2 separate regions of the Homo sapiens genome follow, and region 2 is linked to region 1. Evidence: promoter capture Hi-C in human tissues and cell types (Jung and others, 2019). All regions are on one chromosome and are shown on one strand. The core of a region is centred on a gene start or on the middle of the fragment in contact, and the rest is flanking DNA. Distances in the headings are between cores, read along the strand shown. Region 1 holds the start of CBFA2T3 (CBFA2/RUNX1 partner transcriptional co-repressor 3). Region 2 overlaps SPG7 (SPG7 matrix AAA peptidase subunit, paraplegin).

Evidence for each region. The method cuts DNA at HindIII sites, captures the fragments that hold promoters and counts their contacts. A contact is called where the count stands out against the background at its distance.
Region 2: a contact is called between a fragment that was not itself captured here and the fragment with the promoter of CBFA2T3 in region 1, in 1 of the 25 tissues and cell types used here (spleen).

What each region holds. Positions count from the first base shown.
Region 1 is chr16:88,973,170-88,980,481 of GRCh38, forward strand. It overlaps CBFA2T3 (CBFA2/RUNX1 partner transcriptional co-repressor 3), which reads right to left and starts at 4,038. Exons shown (of 12, transcript NM_005187.6): 1 at 3,488-4,038. The coding sequence starts at 3,638. RefSeq lists enhancers at 62-221, 2,163-2,707, 2,360-2,569, 4,410-4,459. The HindIII fragment of the contact is 13,654 bases long and covers 38-7,312 here.
Region 2 is chr16:89,515,326-89,522,637 of GRCh38, forward strand. All of the region lies in intron 3 of SPG7 (SPG7 matrix AAA peptidase subunit, paraplegin), which reads left to right. Among named protein-coding and RNA genes, the nearest start is that of SPG7, 11 kb to the left of the region's middle. RefSeq lists enhancers at 3,843-4,343, 4,344-4,844, 6,761-7,312. The HindIII fragment of the contact is 6,254 bases long and covers 14-6,267 here.

The DNA of each region.
Region 1 (7,312 bases), core at 2,788-5,287:
GCCTGCAGCCTCTCCAGTGCCTCCCTGTGTCCCACCGCCTGGAGTGCAGAGTGAGTGGCTGGAGCTCTGGCCTAGGGTGGGCTGGGCCTTAGAAGAAGGAGGCAGAGGAAGATTTGGGAGGGAGGAGACGGCCTTGCAAAGACAGAGGTAGTGGCTGCGGCACGGCGGCCACAGCCCAGGAACACCTGGGACCAGCAGGACCTGGAGAAGGCAGGACCTGGAGGAGCACGGCCATCTGACGCCTTAGTTTCGGACTTCCAGCCTGCGGCACTGTGAGAACAGAAGCCTCTGTTGTTCTGAGCCCCCAGCCAGCTTGCAGCCCATCCTTACTGCAGCCCCAGGAGATAGAAACACCCGGGGAGGGCAATCCAGACCCAGAACATTCCAGACCCAGAACCTTCCAATGCAGAATATTCCGGACCCAGAACATTCCAAACCCAGAACATTCCGGACCCAGAACATTCTGGACCCAGGACGTTCCAGACCCACAACATTCCAGAGGACAGCTGGGCCTGGATGGCCACTTGAGGGGATGGAGGATGGAGAGTGAGTGGTGGCAAAGCCCAGCCCCAAGGGCAAGGTCGGGTAGAGGGAGCCCAGGCTGACCGCAGGCTCTGGACGTGACCCCTTTGCCAGGTGGGCTCCAGCCAGGGCTCAAGCTTCCTGCACGGATGGTGCCTTCACAGCATCTGCCCAGTCCCCATAACATCTGCCCGCCTTGCCCGGTCCCCATAACATCTCCCGCCTTGCCCGGTCCCCATAACACCCGCCCGCCTTTGCCTGCACCCCTCCACTGATAGTGCTCACCACCTCCCCGAGATCCCACGTCGTCCCTCTAAGGTGACACCAGGCAGGCCTGACTCAGTTTCTCCCCCATGGAGGTCCCAGCACATGGCACTGAAACTTCTCTGCCTCAGCCTACACTTGCCAGGTGGATTTCAAAATCTCTGTCCCTGGCACCCTCCTCGGGTGACCTGGTTCCCATCCCTCTCTCCTGAGGCAGTCAGGTCACCTTTCTGACCTCCGCCTCTTCTTCTGCAAAGTGGGCTTGGGGGGACAAGGCGGTGAGAGCCTGCACAGCTCCGAGCACACACAGCGGGCGCCTCGTAAACCCAGCACCGCAAGCACCGTCTTCAGGGGTTCCTTCTGCACCACTGGGCCCAGGGGTCAGTGAGGATCCAGACCCTCCGCGTGAGGGGGCTGGTGAAGGAGCCCAGGGAAGGGGTCCCGGCCCCCAGACGGCGGCGTGTGCTCTGTGGCCATCTTCTGATTGCTTACACCTCAGCCCCCAGGACGCTGTCAGAGGAGACGAGGGGCTGAGGTCCTCCCACCCCCTGCACAGCACACAGACGTCTCTCCTGCCCGCCACCAAACGCGCAGCAACACAGCCCTGCTCAGTACGCCTTTGGTCTAAAGACAGGAAGGTTCTTCTACTTCAGCTTTTAGAAATATTACTGTTCTCCCCAGAGTTTAAAGCCAATCGGCCTGTTTTCAGGCCTCAAAGGTTTTAGGAACTCTTGGGAGGCCTGTGTGCCTGACAGCCACACAGTGGGGCTGAGGTGCCCTCAGGTCTGTCCAGGACCCCCCGCAGTTCCCATGCCCCCCATGGCCCCCGCTCCTCCAGCCAGGCGAGGCTTGATGCCGAGGCTTTCTGGCATCACAAGGCTCCCACATCTGTCCCCTGGGGGCCTTGGGAGGCCCCTGGGGTACAGGATGAGAAGCCCCAAGTGCTGGTATTCACATGTAACTCTGCTGCCTGATGTGGCTAAGGCTGTCCCATGGGTACCCTGGAATAGGGCCGGGTGGTTGCACGGACAGAAGCCCCTAGAAGCCAGGGGCAGGACCCCGCACCCAAGTGAGACCCTGCTCCCTCCTCACATTGCAGCCCCTAAGCAGGGGCTCCCTGGGGGTGGGCACAGTGGCTGGGTACTCTGTGTTAGAGGCCACCCTGGCCCTCTGCTCCTGACCTGCAGCCATGTCAGAGGTCCACCCTGACCCTCTCTGCTCCACATCTTTAGCCATGTCAGAGGTCCACCCTGACCCTCTGCTCCTCACCTGCAGCCATGTCAGAGGCCCGCCCTGACCCTCTGTTTCATGCCTCTAGCCAGCAGCCCCTCGCATGACTCAGGCACGGGGCCACCTCTTGGCCCTAACCTCCTTCCACGGTAGACACCCCCGTCCTTCCACAGTAGACGCCCCCATCCTAACAAAGCGGCGGCTCTCCATGCGCCTCAGAGCCCGTCTCTCTCCGCGCCGGTGAGAACCTGCTCTCACGCGGGGAGCAGGTCGGAAGGGTCTGAACCATGAGGAAACTGAGGCCCAGGGAGGAAGCACCCGGCCCAAGGCCACTCAGCGCCAGGGGATAGACAGGGCCGCTCCAGAGAGGACGGGATGGCAGATGCCAGGGCCAGTGGGCTGGTGCTGCCTTGAAGGTGGCTCTGAGTCACCCATTCGGGAGAAACGAACAGTAGCACTGGCTGTGGTGAGGTCCGGCCTTTGCATTCCGGGCACCCGGGGTTGGGAAGTTCCTGCTCACATCTGGGGCCCTTGTGGGGGATGGCCCTGGGGCCCCACGGGCAGCTGCAGGTGGGAACAGCCTCAGGCAGCCGCCGCCAGGACCTGCTCAGGGAATGTGGTCTCCAGAGATGGGGACACCCCTCGGTCCCGGGTTCTGTGTGTGAGTGTCAGGGGTGCAGTCAGACCTTGGACCTGACGGCCTCAGTGAGAGCCCCGCGAGACGGGAGACTGTGAGCTCCTGAAGGTTCCGACGGCTGCTGGGAGTGTGGCCACGAGGGCCACTGGGAATCGGGGCCACCAGCCTGCAGCTGCAGCCCCCAGCGTCCGGGGATCCTTGTCCTGGGACTTCGCAGGCTCGGGTGGGGGGTATCAGCAATAGCTGGCGTCCTGCTGGACTGGACCCCTCCCCAGAGCCCGAAGCCCCCAGAAGGGCAGGCCCAGGTTCCCCGTAAACCCCCACTGCCCTGGCTGGAATCGTTCCTCGGACAGGGGCCCAGGGTTGGGTCCATTTCCTCCTCACCGGGGTCTTGGGCCAGTGCCCTCCCCTCTGGCCTCAGTTTCCTCATCCAACCTGCTGTGAGGTGTCACACCCGGAGGGCATCCCAGGAGGAGGAGGGCTCTCTTTCTAGGACCCCCCCATCACTTCCCGGCTGCGGCCCTCCCACCCCCAGGAGAACACAGCCCACCCTCCTAGACGGGGCTGAGCAGCCCGGCCTCCAGCATCTGCCTCTGGGTGGGGCTGGGGCACCTGGCTGGCACCTGCCAAACCCTCACCAGCCCACCTGCCCCAGCTGTGCAGGACCTGCCTGTGGGGTGGCCCTGTTGATATCTGAGGTGAGTCAACACGGCCATCCGTGCCGGCACTGTCAACTAAGCTGGGCAGGCCCCGCGAAGCTCTAAGGAGTCACAGCCCCGGCACCGGCTGCCGCTCTCTGCCCCCACCCCACCACCTTCCCCTCGAGCCTCTTACCTGGGCCGCCCTTCCTGGGACCCCGGGGTGCGGAGCAGCCGGCAGATGCCAGGAGGCCGCTCTCCAGCACAGGGTGCGTCTGGGACATGGAGCCACAGGTGGATCCCGAGGCTGAACTGGCTGCCCTGTCCCTCAGTCTTGAAGCCGGCATGAGGAGGGCCACCCTCAGGGGCCAACCTGGAGCCCAGGACAGGCCTCTACCAGGACTGCCTTTCCCGACCTCCTGCAGCCTTGAGGGAAAGAGGAGGGGCTGGGCCAGCTGGGGCGTCCTGGAGTTGGGCCTCTGTCCCTGGAAAGCCGAGGCCCTCCCGGCCACCAACTGGGTGTCCTCTGCCCTGGGGAGGGGGTGGGAGCCCTGGGGCTCATGTGACGCGGGGCGGGCCTGGGGCTGCAGGCTGGGGAAGGTCTCCCTGCAGCCTGCGGGTGAGGCAGCCAGCTGTGTCCCCGTGATAATGCCGGGGCCGGAGGCCTGCAGCTGCGCCCGCCACTTCCCTGACAGGAACCATCTGGGGCCCTGCCCTGCGCGGCCTTCCCTCGGGCCATTCCGGTTTGACCTTCCAACAACTTCCTCCTCCCAGGCAGCTCTGGTGACGTCCCACCCACCCTGAGCCCTACAGCGTGGCCACTGGGCATGTGTTTCCTCGGCCCCAGGGCAGGTGTGCAGGCCTGAGGGCAGCTCCATCCTGGCCCAGAGCCCTTGGCCTGTCCCGCCCACCCATCTTCCCCCCAGGGCTTGGCCCTTCCTTCAGCCTGGGGTATCTGGGGGTGTCCTCCCTCTCCGCTAGCCCTCAGTCAGCCGAGCTTTCCCCAGCACCCCTTTTAGTTTGCCCCCGCTCCAGGGGCCACCCTGCCCGTGTTCCTGTGTCTGCTGACTGTGCCCTTGAGCAAGGCGGGGCCTCTGACCAGCCTCTCCTCAGCCCCTGCTCCGGGGTTCTTGGGCACCTGACCTGTCCTCAAAGTACCTCCCGCCTGCTGGGAAGGAAACCCTCTCTCTCTGCTTGGCCTCGTGCACAGGGCTCCTGGCCCTCTGTGGAGACAGCAGGGCTCCCCCACTCTCCGGGGGTGCCTCAGAAAGACCCTCACCCCACGCCCCAGCGGCCGCCTCCGGTGAGCAGCCTGGAGTTTGCGGGGGTCGGGGGTAGGTGGCTTCTCCAGTCTGGGAAATTCCAGAAGCCACCTCAGAGCACTCTTGGGACTACTTAGACCCTAGGGAGAGTCCTAGGACCCCTTTCTAGCGGCCGTTGGGCTGAGAGAGTGAGGCACATCCCAGATGCTGGGAAAAAAAGCCACTTTCTAAAGCTCCCTGACAACTGTCAGAGGGCAGGAGCTTCCTGGGAGGGGACAGTGACCCTTCGGCCCTGCAGCCCTGGTTCGGTGGCTTTTCTGATGCCATGGCTGGAGGTTTCCCGGCCTCAGACAGGCCAGAGGTGTGGAGCCCGCAGACCCAGGGCCGGCTCACGGGCATCTGTGCTATTTTGATTTGATTTGATTTGAGTTTTAGGTCACGTTTGCACGCAGTTAATAATTCAAGCCGTGCAGGAGTAAAAGCCGACTCCTTCCCCGCAGGGTCTCCAGGTGTCCCGGGTCTCCCTGTCCCAATAGTCGAGTGTCTTTCTCGAGTTGGTGACAACAAGCTGCATGCCAGCGTGTGTGTCCAGCTTACAGTGGGGATGTGTTTGTTCCTGCTGGGGAACTTCCCAGACGCCAGGCCCACCCGGGGCCTCCCCTGCCCTGGGTGGTCGGCCGTTCTGCCCCCAGGACTGAGGCTGGAGGGGACATTCCTGCCAGCCCGGGGCCCATCCCCTGGTGCCATCATTCGGTCCCCACGTCCCCTGCTGTTCCCTGTGCTCTGGCTCAGGGTGGGATTCACAGTGAGGGTCCTGGGGGCCCTGACCCTCCTGGTTTCCTCATTTGTGCAGGGTGCACGATCCTAACGGCGTCAGCTCCTACAGCGTTTCCGGGAGTGGAGACAGCAGAGGCTCTGAGCCGCCACATGGGCCGGGGCCACCGTGAGCATGTGGCTGGGGTTGGTCTGTGTCAGTGCCTATTCCCCAGCTGTGTGCAGTGAGAGTCTCAGAGTCGGGGAACTGAGGGTCTCAGGGGGCACAGCCCCCACTCCGTGAGGCAGCAGGACAGCACCCTGGGTGAGGGTGGTGGCTCCCCCCACCCGGGGTAGGAGACAGGCAGCCCTGCCCCCAGCCCTGAGGCAGATGTTCGAGGCCTGCACCTGCGCCCCCCACAGATGGGACACTTCCACTTTCGCAATGAGGCCCTGAGCTCCCCGCCTGGCCCCGTCTTGCCTGGTGTCTAATCAGGGGGTCTGACGGAGGTGGGGTTGGAAAGAGAAGAGAAGAAAGTTGCCCACAAGTTGGGGGCAGGAGCTGCCCCCCAACTTTGGCGGCCACCTGGGGGTGTGGGCACCACTCCCCACCTCCCCACTACCGGCCTCCTCTCCCCCAGGCCGGGCAGTTGGTGCTTGTGGGGAAGCAGACGTTGGCTGTGGCTTTCAGAGCTGGGCGGCCAGGAGATAAGGGGCTGGGGAGGAAGTGGCTGCAGAGGTGGGGGCAGCAGGAGGGGCCTCGGCTTCTCCCAGGGACCTCTGCTGTCTGCAGCCAGCACCCAGCCTCTCGGGGCAGGAGGGGCCTTTCCTTCCTTCCTAAAAGACCTATTAGGGCCTACTGGGGTTCTTTCGGTGTCCAAGACAGCCCCTGGTCCTGCTCTCTGGGAACTATAGGAGACACGTTCCATCAACATGGCCCAGCATGTGGGGCCCATAGGGCAGTTGGGGAAACTGTCCCTGGGTGGGCAGAGGGGCCCTAAGGCAGGCTTTGGTGAATCTGTAGGATGGCCAGAGAACTGGAGGAGGGTGAGGGGGCAGTGGGGGAGATGACGCCATGTGGGGGTGGGTGAGGAGGCCTTCCTTCAGGCAGGGTGTCTTATGTTTGCCTTCTCTTCTAGCATGTAGGAACCCCCCCACCCCCAACACACACACCCTTCACTGCTGGATGAATAGATGAATGAATAGATTGATGAATGAATGGGTGGGTGGGTGAGTGGATGGGTGGGTAGATGATGGGTGGATGGGTGGGTGGGTGGATGAGTGAATGGGTGGATGGATGGGTGGATAGATGGGTGAGTGGGTGGATAGATGGGTGAGTGAGTGAGTGGGTGGATGGGTGGGTGGATGGATAGATGTGTGGATGGGTGGGTGGATGGATAGATGGGTGAATGGGCGGAAAGATGGGTGAATGGGTGGATGGATGAATGGATAAATGGGTAAATGGGTGGGTGGATGGAGAGATGGGTGAATGGGTGGGTAGGTAGATGGATGGGTGTGTGGGTGAATGAATGGTGGATGGGTGTGTGGGTGGGTGGGTGGATAGATGGGTGAATGTGTGGATGGGTGGATAGACGGGTGAATGGGTGGATGAGTGGATAGATGAGTGAATGGGTGGATGGATGGATGGATGGATAAATGGGTGAATGGGTGGTGGATGGATAGATGGGTGGATGGGTGGGTAGATGGGTGAATGGGTGGATGGGTGGATAGATGGGTGAATAGGTGGAAGGATGGATGGATAAATGGGTGAATGGGTAGGTGGATGGATAGATGGGTGGATGGGTGGATGGATGGAGAGATGGGTGAATGGGTGAGTAGGCGAATGGATAGGTGGGTGGGTGAATGTGTGGATGGATGGGTGGATGGAGAGATGGGTGAATGGGTGGGTAGGTGGATGGATGGGTGTGTGGGTGAATGAATGGTGGATGGGTGTGTGGGTGGGTGGGTGGATAGATGGGTGAATGTGTGGATGGGTGGATAGACGG
Region 2 (7,312 bases), core at 1,891-4,390, 540 kb after region 1:
TGGTGCGATGTCGGCTCAGTGCAACCCCTGCCTCCTGAGTTCAAGCGATTCTCCTGCCTCAGCCTCCTGAGTAGCTGGGATTACAGGCATGCACCACCATGCCCAGCTAATTTTTGTATTTTCAGTAGATACAGGGTTTTGCCATGTTGGCCAGACTGGTCTTGAACTCCTGACCTCGTGATCTCCCCACTTCGGCCTCCCAAAGTGCTGGGATTACAGGTGTGAGCCACCACGCCCGGCTGACCTTTTTATAAAAAAAAATTTGCTGGGTAGGTGCGGTGGCTCACACCTGTAATCTGAGCACTTTGGGAGGCCAAGGTGGGATGATCACTTGAGCCCAGGAGTTTAAGACCCTCATTTCTATTATTATTATTACTATTATTATTATTATTTTTTTTTTTGAGATGGGGTCTCGCTCTGTCGCCAGGCTAGAGTGCAATGGCACGATCTCGGCTCACTGCAACCTCTGCTTCCTGGGTTCAGGCGATTCTCCTGCCTCAGCCTCTCGAGTAGCTGGGACTACAGGCGTGCGCCACCACGCCCAGCTAATTTTTTGTATTTTTAGCAGAGACAGGGTTTCACCATGTTGGCAAGGATGGTCTCAAACTCCCGATGTCAGGCGATCTGCCCATCTTGGCCTTCCAAAGTGCTGGGATTACAGGTGTGAGCCACCGTGCCCAGCCTGGAGTTTCACTCTTGTTTCCCAGGCTAGAGTGCAATGGCGTAATTTCAGATCACTGGAACCTCTGCCTCCTGGGTTCCAGTGATTCTCCTGCCTCAACCTCACGAATAGCTGGGATCACAGGCATGCAACACCAAGCCCAGCTAATTTTTGTAGTTTTGGTAGAGACCTGGTTTGGCCACGTTGGTCAGGCTAGTCTCAAACTTCTCACCTCAGGTGATCCACTCGCCTTGGTCTCCGAAAGTGCTGGGATTACAGGTGTGAGCCACCACGCCCGGCCGTTCGTTTTTTTAATAAAAGAAGAAAGTTAGATCACTTGGGGCCAGGAGTTCGAGACCAGCCTGGCTAACATGGTGAAACCCCTTGTCTACTAAAAATACCAAAAAAAAAAAAAATTAGCCAGGTGTGGTGTACGTGCTTGTAATCCCAGCTACTCCGGAGTCTGAGGCGTGAGCATCGTTTGAACCTGGTAGGCAGAGGTTGCAGGGAGCTGAGATTGTGCCATTGCACTTCAGCCTGGATAATAGAGTGAGACCTTTCTGTCTCAAACATAAAAAATTAAGAAAGAAAAGGCCGGGCGTGGTGGCTCATGCCTGTCATCCCAGCACTTTGGGAGGCCAAGGCGAGCAGATCACAAGGTCAGGAGATCGAGACCATTTTAGCTAACACGGTGAAACCCTGTCTCTACTAAAAATACAAAAAAAAAAAAAAATTAGGCGTGGTGGTGGGCACCTGTAACCCCAGCTAGTCGGGAGGCTGAGGCAGGAGAATGGCGTGAACCCAAGAGGCGAAGCTTGCAGTGAGCCGAGATCGCGCCACTGCACTCCAGCCTGGGCGACACAGCAAGACTCTGTCTCAAAAAAAAAAATTAAGAAAGAAAAAAGCGACGGCGAGACTCTTGTCTCAAAAAAAAAGAAAAAAGAAAAAAGTCGTAAGAGAAAATATATTTCCTATTTATGCAGTGGAAGCGGATCACCATAAAGAGCTTCATCCTCATGGCCTTCACCTTGAGTGGGCTGAGGAGGAGGACGAGGGGCTGGTCTTGTTGTCTTGGGTAGCAGGGGTGGAAGAAAATCCACGTGTCCGTGATCATACATAGCTCACTCCTGTGTTGCTGAAGGGTCACCTGTCATAGAAGAGGGAAGAATTGTGTGGCCTGTGCGGATTCTGCATTCAGCCTTGTGTGTTGTGTTACGGTTAACCAGGGACGTGTGCCCCACTAATAACTCTGATTCCTGGAAGGAATGGCATGGCAGCCTCCGTTGTCATGGTTCCTGGAGGGAATGGCATGGCAGCCTCCGTTGTCATGGTTCCTGGAAGGAATGGCATGGCAGCCTCCGTTGTCATGGTTCCTGGAAGGAATGGCATGGCAGCCTCCGTTGCCATGGCAAGGCAAAGCCATGGCAGCTTCCTGGTTATCACTCCTGGCATGTGGTAGGTGCTTGTCCAGTGAAATCCTAGTCGTTGCTGCATTGGCAGGTGCCCTGGCGTGAGGAAGGGCAGGCAGTCACCATGCCCTTTGCTCTCCTGGGCCCTGCATCTGCTTATGGATGAGGCTGCGTGTAGCTGACATGCGTGTCTCTCCTGCATCTGAGTAATTGTCGTCGTCTTTTTTTTTTTTTTTTTTTTGAGATGGAGCTTCGCTCTTGTTGCCGAAGTTGGAGTGCAATGCCACGATCTCGGCTCATTGCAAACTCCACCTCGTGGGTTCAAGCAGTTCTCCTGCCTCAGCCTCCCGAGTAACTGGGACTAAAGGTGCCCGCAACCATGCCCGGCTAATTTTTTGTGTTTTTAGTAGAGACGGAGTTTCACCATGTGAGCTAGGATGATCTCGATCTCCTGACGTTGTGGTCTGCCCACCTCGGCCTCCCAAAGTGCTGGGATTATAGGCGTGAGCCACCACGCCCGGCCAAGTGATTGTTTTATGTTTATTCTGTTTTGGGTTGAACTATAGTTTGCTTGGAGAAAATAATGTCTGTTAAATTTGCGTTAGAGGATAATTGTTTACTGAGCCAAATAATCTTTCTTGTGAGAACCTATTCTGGGTTTCCCCTGGGCCCTCTGCTGTGGTTTCGGCGGGAGTTGGTTTGTGTGGATTTTCAGGACTGCTGACTTGATCAGACAGGCACAACACAGTCCCGGCCCTCAGGCAGGCCTTCTCCCTGGTCTGATGCTGAACTGCATGGCGTCTGTTCAGATGAAGATTCTTTTGCCACCTCCTTAAATGAAAGAACGATACTGAATGTGGCTTAGAAACAGCTTTGCCAGCCGTGCAGAATGATTGTAAGTAGTGGTTGCCCGAAAAGTATTTGCTTGGAATACCACTCACTGATAACACTGGTGAACCTGGAAGGAATTATACGGAGTGAAAAAAGGCACCACTCACTGATAACACGAATGAACCTGGAAGGAATTATACGGAGTGAAAAAAGGCTCCGCTCACTGATAACGCGGGTGAACCTGGAAGGAATTACACGGAGTGAAAAAAGACCCTGCTCACTGGTAAGGCGGGTGAACCCAGAAGGAATTACACAGAGTGGAAAAAAGACTCCGCTCACTGATAACGCGGGTGAACCCAGAAGGAATTACACGGAGTGGAAAAAAGGCCCCGCTCACTGATAACGCGGGTGAACCCAGAAGGAATTATACGGAGTGAAAAAAGGCCGAGCTGAAAGATCACATGCCGTATGATTTTTTTTTTATACAGCATTCTCTAAAGACAAAAATTAAAGAGATGGAACACAGATTCGTGGTTGCTAGGGGTTAAGGATGGGGGAAGGAGACAGCCGGAGGGAGCCTGTGGTTGGATTGCCTCAGCTGCGGTGGGCACACACTGCGCGTGTGTCATGGGATGACCCCGGGGAGCTTGGTGGACCGTCGTGGTGGGAGAGCCTGGCTGTGATACTGTTCATAGTTTTGTGAGATGGAACCCCTGGAAGCAGGGGGACAAGGTATTGCTCTGCGTCATTTATTTTTATTTATTTATTTTTTTTTGAGATGGGGTCTGGCTCTGTCACCCAGGATGGAGTGCAGTGGCTCGATCTCTGCTCACTGCAACCTCCACCTCCCGGGTTCAAGCGATTCTCCTGCCTCAGCCTCCTGAGTAGCTGGGATTACAGGCGCGTGCCACCACACCCAGCTAATTTTGTTTGTTTTTAGTAGAGATGGGGTTTCAGTATGTTGGTCAGGCTGGTCTCGAACTCCTGACCTCATCATCTGCCTGCCTCGGTCCCCACAAAGTGCTGGGATTACAGGTGTGAGCCACTGCGCCCAGCCTGCTCTGTGCCATTTCTTACAACTACATGTGAAGGTACAGTTACTTCACGGTTGCTAACTAGAACTAGAAAACTAGAAAAAAAGCAGTTGCTAACATTTTTTTTTTCTTTTTTTGAGACGGAATTTCGCTCTTGTTGCCCAGCCTGGAGTGCAGTGGCGCGATCTCAGCTCACCGCAACCTCCGCCTCCCGGGTTCAAGCCATTCTGTTGCCTTAGCTTCCCGAGTAGCTGGGATTACAGGCATGCGTCACCACACCTGGCTGATTTTTTGTATTTTTAGTAAAGATGGGGTTTCTGCATGTTGGTCAGGCTTGTCTCAGACTCCCGACCTCAGGTGATGCACCCGCCTCAGCCTCCCGAAGTGCTGGGATGACAGGCGTGAGCCACCGCGCCCGGCAGCAGTTGCTAACATTTTCACACAGCTTCTTGTGGAGAAGGCCCCTTTCCACTGTGAAGTGTGAATGCGTCAAGGTGGAGCCCCTGCCCCGGAGGCCTCTCCTCTGTCAGGGTCAGCTGTGGCGCTCGGGGCTGCTGTCTTCAGGGGCGGTTTCCAAGTGGGATGAGCCTGATGTGGCCCCTGTGGCTGCTTCCTTGAGACTCAGTGGTATCAGCCGTTTGTTTTTAGATGACTGATTGAAGTGAGTTATGTGATCATAATATCTAATTGTCAACAATTGACTTTTTTTCCTCGAAGAGGGATTTTGGCAACAAAACTTGCCAGTGGTCCTGCAGGCTGCCGTCCACGAGGTGTGCATATGAGGCTCAGGAGGCATGTGCGTTTCCTGAGCGCCTTGGCGGACAGCCTCAGGAACACAGGCAGCAGGTGCTGAGGTCACACCCCAGTTCTGTGTGAGCTGGCGGCTCGTCTCAGCATCCTGAATAACCGTCCTGGAAGCACACAGGAGGAAGGTACCTGCAGCCCTGGGTGCGCAGGCACAAATGACCACAACACTGAAGGCGTGGCGGGAAGAGGTGCATCGGGCAGCGCAGTGGAAGGGACGCGCTGGGCGTTTGGGTTGAACAGAAGTTAAGGACTTCATGGGAAGGAGATGGGGGGTCTTGCAGGCAGAGGAAGTTCCTTTTATACCTAGAGTGCTTTTGTTTGTTTGTTTGTTTGTTTGTTTGTTTTGAGATGGAGTTTCACTCTTCGTTGCCCAGGCAGGAGTGAAGTGGCGCGATCTCAGCCCACTGCAACCTCCGCCCGCCATGTTTAAGCGATTCTCCTGCGTTAGCCTCCCTAGTAGCTGGGCTTACAGGCGCGTGGTACCACGCCCAGCTAATTTTTGTATTTTTAGTAGAGACAGGGTTTCACCATGTTGGCCAGGCTGGTGTTGAACTCCTGACCTCAGGTGATCCACTCACCTCAGCCTCCCAAAGTGCCTGGATGACAGTCGTAAGCCACTGCGCCCAGCCCCAGCTACGTTGTGTTTTTTTTTTCCCCCTGTAGAGATGGGTTTTCGCTATGTTGCCCAGGCTGGTTTCTAACTCCTGGACTCAAGTGATCCACCTGTCTCGACTCCCAAAGTGCTGGGATGACAGGTGTGAGCCATTGCGTCCGGCTGGAATTTCTTATGGTTCGTTTCCTTAGGTTAAAGTTTCAGAAGTAGGATTTTTGAATTAAAGAAACTAAATACTGTCTATGGCGCTTGATACATCTTGCCAGGCAGTTATCAGACAGGGTTGTACTGGTTTGCGCCACCCCAGAACGTGTGCAAGGCCTGTTTGTGGACCCTCCTTGGCCTGGCTCTCTAGGTCATCCACCTGCGTGTGCTCACAGAGCATATGGATTTTTCCCTGCGGTGCCTTCACTTGTGGCTGGAAGAGCCTTCTCTGTGATCCTGTGTCCTGGGTGCTCTGTTGGCCTCCTTCTTGCCACCGAGGAAGACACGGAGGCTAGAGAGGGCTCACTGAACAGTGAAATGATTGGAACCTAAGGAGCTTCAGCAGAAGGTGTCATGATGGGGCTAGGCTCTCCCGAGGGCTGTGTGGCCTCAGCGTCTTGTTGGGCAGATCCTGCTCCCTGACACAGCGGGGCTAAGAGCCAGCCTGTGTCACACACCTGTGAATTAACATGCCTGGCTGACCCTCACTGGAGAAGGGCTACACGTTTGTGACGAAAGCAGAAGAGGTGTTTATTGTAGACCAAATCCAAGCTGTCATTTTACTTTTATTAGAAATTATTTGGGATTTGGCTCATGCCTATAATCCCAGCACTTTGGGAGGCTGAGGTGGGAGAATCACCTGAGCTCAGTCGTTTGAGACTGCCTTGGCAACATAGTGAGACCTCATCTTCTACTCAAATTTAAAAAATTAGCCGGGCGCAGTGGCGTGCACCTGTACTCCCAGCTACTCAGGAGGCTCAGTTGGGAGGATCACTTGAGCCCAGGAGGTGGAGGCTGCAGTGAGCCCAGATATGCTCATGAAGCACTGTGGGTTTCTCCTGCAGTGCACCACCGCACTCCAGCCTGGGTGACGGAGAGAGACCCCATCTCAACAAAAATAAAAAAGAAAAGAAAATGGGACACTGTTGATACAGTCACAGAGCTGAAGGAGCAGCATGGGTCGTGATTCTGGATCGTCCCTCCAGGGCAGCTAGAGTAGCTGCTGGGAAGTATTTCTCTCAGTTTCCCGGGAGCAGTGTGGGTCGTGATTCTGGATTGGCCCTCCAGGGCAGCTAGAGTAGCTGCTGGGAAGTATTTCTCAGTTTCCCAGTGCACCCCATGTTTCTAGTAGAAAACACAATTGGTAATTAAATATTGGAAGTAGTTTCTAACAATTGGATACTCACCTGAGAACATAAATTTGCTCTCTGAAATAAGCGGTGGGCTTTAAATAATTGCCTTTGTGAATATGAAATTTAAGTATTAGATGCACGATTAGGATCGATTGTAACAAAACAGTGATATCTAAAATATACCTTCATGTTTTCAAAGTAATTATTTTGCCACCTTTTTAGTGGGTTTCATTTTGTGTTTTTAAGCCGATTTAAAAATTGTTTGAATTCGTCTAAAATGATTGTTGGAAAGGAAGGTGGTACATGGGACGTGCCCAGGCCAGGCTTTGATCCCAGCATGAAGCCCCCGCAAGACAATGCAGGAGGAGAAGAGCTGTGAATCTCAAGAAGACGTGAGCCTCTCGTCCCGGCTGCTGGGTCCGTGGCGGTTTGTCCGCAGGCGCAGGTGTTCTGGAAATGACGTCGTTACCACCGCTGGGTCTGTGGCGGTTTGTCCGCAGGCGCTGGTGTTCTGGAAATGACGTCGTTCCCGCCGCTGGGTCCGTGGCGCTGTGTCCGCAGGCGCAGGGGCGCAGGTGTTCTGGAGATGATGTCGTTCCCGCTGCTGTGTCCGTGGTGGT